Linked DNA regions of Homo sapiens: region 1 is linked to region 2. Evidence: promoter capture Hi-C in human tissues and cell types (Jung and others, 2019). All regions are on one chromosome and are shown on one strand. Each heading gives the region's core, a stretch centred on a gene start or on the middle of the fragment in contact. The rest is flanking DNA. Distances are from core to core; before and after follow the strand shown. Region 1 has its middle 25 kb from the start of CTSO. Region 2 holds the start of GLRB (glycine receptor beta).

Region 1 (4,757 bases), core at 1,670-4,169, 1.1 Mb after region 2:
GGGAACAGCCAATACACATCAAAGAGTTCTAGGACCTATGGGGGAAAAAATCACAAATAGGTAGCAATCCTCAAATTTAGGGGTGTCCACTTAGCGTGGAAAGTTCAATTGGCTAATCTGAAAACTACAGCCAAATCTGCAACTAGTCTTCACTTATGGGATGTGCAAGGGAAACTCACAAAGTTTGGAAGAGTCTGGACCCTATAAACTAACCAATCTAAGCAAGATGCTCTTAGGGAAAATAACCCCATAAAACAGTAAGGAAAGAAAAACAACATTAACCAAAAGAAAGAAGAAGAGAACGATTTATAAGTTAAAAGTAGTAATGAATGAGTTTGAAAATAAAACAAAAACAGAAAATAGGTGAATATATCTAACTCCGATTCTACAAAAAAAAAAAAAGAAAGAAAACCCAAACAGAAAAACCACCAGCCAATCTAATCAAGCAAAAATGAGGAAAACACAAGTACACAAAATCACAAGAAAACCGTGAAATTGAAGAAATGTATGGAATGATACTACTTTTTATTAGGTTATGCAAATGAATCAAACATGAAATATATGATTTTTTGGAAAACACATTCTTAAAACATTTATAGTATACATGGCGTAGTGGGATGCACCATTAGGTTCTTTATTCTATTATGGATGCACACAGGCATACACACACAAGGGCACACATGCACACACACAAGTGCACACACACACACACACACACACACAATGGTGCAATCCTGAAGGCAGAAACCTGAATCTTTCACGTTTTCTGTAATGTATTCTTCATTAGGTGGAAAAAAAGTCAAACAATAATTTCCAGAGTTGTATGGGAAATTTTTTGTCCTACACAAGAAAGAAAATCTGTTTTCAATTGGAACTTTAAGCAGAAAGGGCCCCAGTTGCTTTAAGCTCCCCTTCTCATTACCACATAATAAAAAGAATTCTTATCTCTAGCAGAAAAAACGCAGTCACAGAAGAAAACACAGGAAGAGGGATGTTCAGGGTGTAGAGGGAGAAAGCTATAGTATCACTTAATTGTAGTACTTTATAAGCAAAGGAGAGCAAATAAAAATCTTCCTCAGTAATCAAGAGACTCACCTAACACAGAAGGACTCCCACAGACTTAAGGTAAAGGGGTGGAAAAAGACATTTTAGACAAACGGACACCAAAAATGAACAGGAGTAGCTATTCTTATATCAGACCAAACAAACTTTAAAGCAACAGCAGTTAAAAAAGACAAAAAGGGACATTATATAATGATAAAAGGCCTTTTCCAACAGGAAAATATCACAACGGTAAGCATAAATGCACCTAACACTAGAACTCCCAAATTTATAAAACAATTACTAATAGACCTAAGAAATGAGATAGACAGCAACACAATAATAGTGGGGAACTTCCATACTCCACTGACAGCACTAGACACATCATCAAGACAGAAAGTCAACAAAGAAACAACGCATTTAAACTATATCTTGGAACAAATGGACTTAACAGTTATATACAGAATGTTCTATCCAACAACCACAGAATACACATTCTATTCAACAGCACATAGAACTTTCTCCAAGATAGACCATATGATAGGCCACAAAACGAGCTTCAATAAACTTAAGAATATTGAAATTATTTCAAGCACTCCTCAGACCACAGTGGAATAAAACTGGAAATCACCTCCGAAAGGAACCTTCAAAAACATGCAAATATATGGAAACTAAATTACCTGCTCCTGAATGATCATAGGGTCAAAAATGAAATCAAATGAAAGTCAGCGCCTGGCCGACTTTTTTATCTGTGTGGCTGTGGGCATGTCTTAGGGAAGACGCCTGTGCAATTTCCCTTATCTGTGCCACAGGGTGTTCTTTTGTTTGAAAGAATCTAACTGAGGACCCACCCTAACTGCCTACCGGACAGGTTTCTTCCTTTCTCCTCTCCCATCCATATATTATTTGCTATATAACAAAATTAAATATATTTCACTTAAGTCTTACAAAATTTAAAGAGTACAGAAATTAGGTTCTAAAGACTTCATGAAACTAAGTAAATCACCACATGAATTTTGTTCAAATACCATTATCTGATTCAATTTGTGAGCCTGGATATATTTTTCAAATAACACTTTTTTTTTTTTTTTTTGAGCTAGAGTCTCACTCTGTTGTCCAGGCTGGAGATGGGGTTTCACCATATTAACCAGGATGGTCTCCATCTCCCAACCTCGTGATCCACCAGCCTTGGCCTCCCAAAGTGCTGGGATTATAGGTGTGAGCCACCACGCCCAACCACATGTTCTTTAATAAATAAAGTTTGTATAGAACTTTAATGGTTGCAAAATGCTTTTATGAACTCTGAAAGGAAGAGTGATGTTACTATTTAGTATTAGAAAACAAGTGACTTGCCCAATATATCTTGTCTAGTTTACATTTCCATTTACAAACGGACTGTTTTCTACATCTTTTCATGGTATGTCTGCTTTTTAAATTTAAGACAAGTTGATGTGTTATATGAGATTATTTCAGGTTATTCAGGCTATTTTATACCTGTGGCCATTGCTACATAAGTGCCACTTGAGTTCCCCATCACTGAAGCAGCAACACAAGCACACGCCCATTTATCTAAAAAGCCCCTGGTGAAACCACCTTCACAAAAATTATAACAGAAAATTGTGACAGTGAACGAGATCAGACTTAACCAACTCCATCTTGCTTCTAACCTTAAGCTATCCTTGTTCATTCTTGGGTGTAGGCTAAACTAACCTTGGAAAGGAATTTAGTTTACGATTTGACTCTGAAACAAAACTGATAATAGCTCTTTCCCAAAAAGACCACCTTCTTGCCTGGGGACCAGTCTGCCTTTGCAGGAATAACAAATTAACTACAAGATTAGAAATTATGGTTTAGGGGTCATGCAGCCTTTGGCTGCAAGAGTCTGAACCTCCCAAAAATTATTCCTGGGGATAACATCACTGTTGTAAAACCTGAAATCAGTGCTTGAGATATTTTGCATATCCTGGACTCGATGGATCAGCTGATGCTACCCAGACTGGTAATCTGGTTCAACCAGTTCTGTAATCCCACCCACGGAACAGAAGACAGCAAGAAAACTTCACTTTGACCCCACTGTGATTCCATCTTCAATCCACCAATCAGCACTCCCCACCCCACTTCCCGAGCTTCTTCTCCCCAAATTATCTTGAAAAACTCTGATCCCTGAATGCTCAGGGAGACTAATTTGAGTACTAATAAAACTCCTCCGGTCTCCCGCACAGCTGGTTCTGTGTGAATTACTCTCTCTCCATTGCATTTCCCCTGTCTTGATAAATCGGCTCTGTCAAGGCAGCGGGCAAGGTGAACCCATTGAACGGTTACACTAGGAAGCATCTTGCTCCTAGCTGACAGCCTCTGACTTGGGAATTCTGGTGCTCAACACAAGCTCTGAAAATTTGTTTTATATCTTTCTATAATAAGAGCTGAATTAATGAAGAACTTAGTTCATGATTATTTGGTGATTAAAATTTTTAATTGTCGGCCAGGCGCAGTGGCTTGCACCTGTAATTCCAGCATTTTGGCAGGCCCAGGCAGGCAGATCACCTGAAGTGAGGAGTTTGAGAGCCACCTGGCCAACATGACGAAACCGTCTCTACTAAAAACACAAAAATTAGCCAGGCTTGGTGGTGGGCACCTGTAATCTCAGCTACTCAGGAGGCTGAGGCAGGAGAACCGCTTGAATCCGGGAGAAGGAGGTTGCAGTGAGCCGAGATCAGGCCACTGCACTCCAGCCTGGGCAATAGAGGAAGACCCTGTCTCAAAAAAAAAAAACAACAACAAAAAAAGGAATTAACCATTTGTTACTAGGGATAAAATTGACCAAAGAAAAAGAAGCTAAGTATCTTCTTTAAAACTGCATTTAAAAGGTGGTAAAATTCACATAGCCATAGATAATGATGTGACTTTTGAACAAAGCCTCCTGAATTATGAAACACTCTGATCATTTATTAATATTTAATCCATTTTTATTTAGAATAAAACATGTATATATCATAAATAAAATTAGGTTTATAAAAATATCTTAAAAATGGCTTTAAGCTTATCATTTTCATAATTAAAATTGTTTTTAATTTGCAAAACAGGATTTTCTGTCTTCTAGTGTAGGGAAGTTTAAACTTTCCCTCTGAAGGAATAATGAGGTCTGCTGAAATAAAATAGCAATAAACAGATTAGCAGGAGAAAAAACATGTTAGTTACATGCATGCACACAGGAACCTCACAGAAGAATACGAGACTCAAAGGACCAGAGGATTGAAGTTTCTAAGCATAAAGGAATAGCGGCTTGAGCTTTGGAGGGAGGTGGCAACAAGTTGTGAGAGGAAGAGGGGAGGCACTGCAGGGGAACACTGGTTGTCTTACTATGCAAATAAAGACTCTCAGGTGATAAAACTTGTTTGAGGGCAGCCTCCCGGGGAATAAGTGATAGCCAGTCCGGGTGCAGGGATGACTTTTAATCTCCTCTCTGTGATTAATATTCCCTGGGTTTTGGATGAGATTCTTAGGGAGGGGTTCCAGACAATTGCATTCCTTTTGGAAGAACTTCCCTGCGTCAGATAATAGAACTTCAGAGAAAGCCCCTCCCACACTTGTGGAGGAGAAACAAGGGAAAGTCAGAGAGACCTTGATTGTGAGGCAGCTTCTAAGACCTTCCAATTTCCTTTAATTCAAAGCACTCAGAATGCCAAAGCAACATACCTTAAGGTATCATTTTCTGA
Region 2 (4,930 bases), core at 88-2,587:
AAAAAGACAGATAAAAGAAAAAGTTAATATCAAAGAGTTCCACATTCAAAATTCATTGCTTTTTTTATTTAAACACATTACATTGGCAAGCTACCTTTTTGCCCCAAAAAGGTGCCTCTTAAGTTAGCTTTAAAGCTTTCTTACTTATTTGCTACTAACATTTGTCATCAAAAAGATTACTTCAGAAATTCTACAACAAGAAATAAAACAAGTGTTGTTACATTTTTTTCAAATTATCGTCCTAGCCATATTTTAATAACATTTTCATGCTCAAATCAGAACCATATTCTTGCCAGAGATTCTGATAAATAAAAAATAATTAAGCCTCTACCTACACTAGAGAAGTTCAAACTCTTCTGCAACCTTCATTTCCAAACCATAAATTGTTTCTCTTTCATTGTTTTCCGCAGAGTAAAAGACCTGTCATATTCTTCAACGCTAACTTAATTCCCATCTCACCCTCAGAAATTTGCTTCTCCTTATGTCATGTTTTTCATCTTCCCCCCCCCCCCCCAGGATTCTTCCCCCCATATTTATCTTTTACACACACTCCAGGCAAGCCAGAGGGGCTTCTCCCTGGGTACTTTAAATTGAAGACAACAGAGGGGGCTCATCAGACCAACAGCAACAACACAAGGTTCTCCTCTGGCAACTTCACAACATTGGACGCTCCCTTCCCCCATCCGACAGCGGCACCTGCTTCCAGACACCTTGCCCACAGCAGCAGGTACTTCTCCCACTTTCACATCCTTGCCCCCGCAAAAAGGAGGGCCGAGCCCCCCTAACGCTTCGAAAAACAGAGAAATTCACCACTCTGCTCTGTCCTCACCCCCAATCTTTCAAGGGGGACAGCTGCATTGACTGGAGGATCCTCATAAACAAAACAACGCAAGGAGCCCTCCTGGCCAACCTTGCGTTTCCTAATTACCCCGGCCCTCTGCATCTCTCCACCCGGAGCGTCTCCGCGGGCGCCACCGCAGCGGGGACCCGGCTGCCGCTGCCAGGCGCCCCGCGCCCCTCTCCCGCGCAGGGCAGCGCGCGTCCTCCCGGGCACGCCGCAGTGCTCCTCGCGCTCCGCCGCCCCGGGCTTGACCCGCTGTTTCCGCAAAGGCGTCTATTCCCGTCCTCAGACCACCGTCGCCGCCCCAACCCGCGTCCCCTCCTCCTAAGTGGAGCTCCTGGCACTTACCCGGAGGCGCCCCTGCCCACAATCGCCGGGCGAGATCGTGGAGGCTCCGGGCCCAGGTGGCAGTGGCTGCTAAGGGTGCAGCGGGCGCCGAGCGGGGGCAGCTGCGTCCCAGCCGCCCGCGCCACCGCCGAGCTCGGCTGACGCGCCTGCTCGGGCCGCGGAGCCTGCGCCGTGGCGCGCCGCGGTCGGGGCCGCAGCGGGGACAGCGCGGGCCGCGGGGGAACCTGGCGACCGCGGGCGGGGGAGGGAAGAGGTGTCCCGACAGAGCAACGTCACGGCATCGTCCCCTTCAGGCATTGGAGGGGTTACCGAGCAGAAATGTGTACCCCCCTCACTCCTTAGGGGACTAAAGGAGTTGGGGACGAAGGGCGGGAATGATAGTGTCGGTACAAAAAGAAAAAACCTTTCAAGGAGCTGGGATTGCTTGGGGTCAGCTTTTGACCACTAGCAACAAACAACAGAGCAACAAATGACCTTCTTGGGTCAAAGCGAACAAAACACATTTTCTGTCATTTCACCATTTGCCTGGAACCCAGACATCCAGCTTAATCTCCGGGTCTTCCAATTTCTAAAAGCCTGAACTTTCTGAGCAAGCTTAAATTGGTCAAAATTACTGACAATATAGTCATACAGGTAATACTATGTTTAACATCTGTTACATAATTAACATGTGTACAGAACTTGACAGTTGCAAAACACCTTTCACTCGCCTTATCTCATGTGGCCCTCACCACATTCCTGGGCAAGTTTTGTCATCCCCTTCTGTAGATGAAGAATCTGAAACTCAGTTATATTAAGAGATTTACTTAGAGTTACAGATCTTGAAAGAAATTTACCAGAGATTCAAAATTAGTGATTTTTGCATATCTGAACCAGACAGGGTCTCTGCCTTATAAGAGCAAAATACTGTTGTCCTCATCCTTGTGAAGAAGTAGCCCTTACTTGGATATGCAGCCCTTAGATAACAGATAAGGCTATCCTATTACCTCTTGAATGTATGCCTGATTGATTTTTTTTAATTGTTATTTTTTAAGCAACAGGAGCTCACTTTGTTGCCCAGGCTGGAGTGCAGAGGCACAGTCATCGCTCACCGCAGTCTTGAACTTCTGGGCAATCAAGAGATCCTCTTGTCTCGGTCTCCCTAGTAGAGTAGCTGGAACAACAGACAGGCCATTGCGCTCCACTAATTATTATTATTATTTTTTAAGAGACAGCATCTCTGGCTTTGTTGTCCAGGATGGTCTCCAACTCTGGCCTGAAGCCATCCGCCTGCCTTAGCCTCCCAAGCTGGGGGGCTTACAGGCTTGAGCCACCCCACCCCACTGCACCAGGTCCTGATGGATTTTTTTTATTAAAAAAGCATTGTCTCAAGTGAGCATCACTTAGCATTGTATTGTGGACCCACAGATGTATCCACTAATAAATTTTTCCACCCGCAGCATATGGAGGGAAGGAATATTTCCTGCATATAACCGTGTTCCATAAGCTTCATGAGATATTCTGCTGCCTAAGAGTAGTGATCATTAATAAGTGATCATTACCTTATTTACATTACAAAATGATCATTATTCAAAGAGCTGTACTGTTTGAAGACCCCCCCGCCAAAGTGGATCAGGATATAACTTTGGATTTTAATGCTTTATTAGAGAGAACTATATTGATAATATACGTTTCATAAGATATAACTTTTGGTGAATAGGTCATATGAAGAATGATAAAGGAATTAGTTTTCATGCAGCCAGGGGAGTTTAGAAGTTGGCGAAAACCTTACACTTAGTTTTCAATTAATCAAGAAATTATTAAGAGTTTAGAATAATAGGAATTCCGATTCCTGTAATAAAATGAACATCTTTTATTTACAAACTCTAATGTCCACATTTGGAAGAACTATGCTGAAAATACCTACAACAGACTTGCTCACCTTCCCTAGTATTGTTTCTGTGCCATCCATGGATGTTATATTGGAGAATTAGGTTATTCAGAAGAAAAGCAAGTCCAGCAGGTTGGATGGGTTTGTAGGGTTTTGGCCCAAAGGTTAAGAAATATAGTTGATGCCCTAAAAGCACTTCTTCTAGCCTGTAAAATGGTCAAGTTCAGAATTCTGAAAATTTTTTTCTATGAAAGTGATCTGCTTACCTATATTTCTATAACTTTTATATCATAGTGTGAAAAGGGATGCTTCTAAATAATGTCATGAAATAACCTATTTTCCCCAATTCTGTCAAGTGTTGATCTACTTTTCTCTATTTATTTCTATCAATATTCACTCCTTTAGTAATTTCATCTGGTCACAAGGTTTTAAACACCATGTTGATAGCTCCCATATGTACTTCTCCTGACTAGACATCTCTCCAGAACTCCAGACTCATCTATCTAACTGCCTTTTCAACATTTCAACTTGCGTATTTAATAAACATGTCAAACTCAGTGTGTCCCAAACTGAGCTATGGTTCTCCCTAAAATCTGCCCCACATTCAGCCTTCTCCTTCTCAGTTCACGGCAACCTCATCCTTAGGGTTGGTCAGGCTAAAAATCATGAAGTTGTTCTTGATTCCGCTCTTTTTCTCACACCTCACAACCAAATCTCTGAGGAAATCCTGTTTACTCTCAAATGACAACAGGAATTCAGCTACTTCTTATGATTTTTACTGCAGCCAACCTAGACTCAGTGACTTTCATCTCTACGTTAGATTACTATAATAGCACTTTAGCTACTCACCCTGCCTCTATCATTGTCCTCTCCTACCCTTGAGTAATCTCAAAACAGTAGCCAGAGTGATCCCTTTAAAACATGTCATAGGTCATATTGTGTCATTCCTCAACTCAACACCCAGCAGTTAGTCCCCATTTTATAAACCAGTGTTTACAATGGTCTACAAACCTTCAATTGTTATGCATCTCCTCCCCCTAACTCTGACTTCTTCTCTCCTAATGGCTCGCTCTCTTTCAGCCCTGCTGATCTTGCTGCTTCTCCAACATGCCAAAGCCAGGTATGGTCCCATCTTAGGTTATTGGCTCCTCTGTCTAAAATGCTTTCCCCCCAGACCACCACATGACTGACTCCCTCATATCTTCAACATCAACCCAGATGTCACCGTCTCACAGAGATTTATCCAATGTTATTTAAAAGTGCAAACCATCTCCCATCCAAAGATTTCCAATCCCCCTTTGCCTGCTTTTCTTTTTGTTTTCATAGTACTTATTACCTCCCAACTCATCATACAATATACTTACAGTTTGTGGCCTCTGTTTCCTTGCTAAAATGTAGGCTTCATGAAGGCAGAGATTTGTATCTATTTTTGTCCATTGATGTTGCCCACACACCTAGAATAGTGTTGAATGAATGTGTAAATCTTGGCCTCATTTATTAATTTCTTCAAATTTCATGTTTCTTTATTAGTAAAATGAAAATGACAATGCATAATTTGCAGGATTGTACCAAGAAATAAACAGGTTAATTGACGTTAAAAATCTGCTGCAGAGAAGAAAAGTCACAAAGAATTAACCTCCCCTATTTTTGCTTGTTTTTATTTGCTTAATGGAATGATAGAATTTTGTTGTGGCTGTTTTTTTTTTAATTATTTTTAATTTTTGTGGGTACATGCATTTTTTGCTTACTGGGACCCTGTTATCCATTTCTTTCTTGTACGTCTACACTGAGAACATTTTGTAGGCCTACATCTAAACACTAAAAACCTTCTAACCTTCTTTTCTTTCTTTTTTCTTTTTTTTTTTCTTTTT

What was found. The method cuts DNA at HindIII sites, captures the fragments that hold promoters and counts their contacts. A contact is called where the count stands out against the background at its distance.
Region 1: a fragment that was not itself captured here is called in contact with the fragment with the promoter of GLRB in region 2 in 1 of the 25 tissues and cell types used here (lymphoblastoid cells).

What each region holds. Positions count from the first base shown.
Region 1 is chr4:155,976,143-155,980,899 of GRCh38, reverse strand. No RefSeq gene overlaps it. Among named protein-coding and RNA genes, the nearest start is that of CTSO, 25 kb to the right of the region's middle. The HindIII fragment of the contact is 6,587 bases long and covers 1-4,757 here.
Region 2 is chr4:157,072,557-157,077,486 of GRCh38, reverse strand. GLRB (glycine receptor beta) reads right to left here and starts at 1,337. Exons shown (of 10, transcript NM_000824.5): 1 at 1,190-1,337. RefSeq lists a silencer at 3,936-4,230. The HindIII fragment of the contact is 3,601 bases long and covers 1-2,229 here.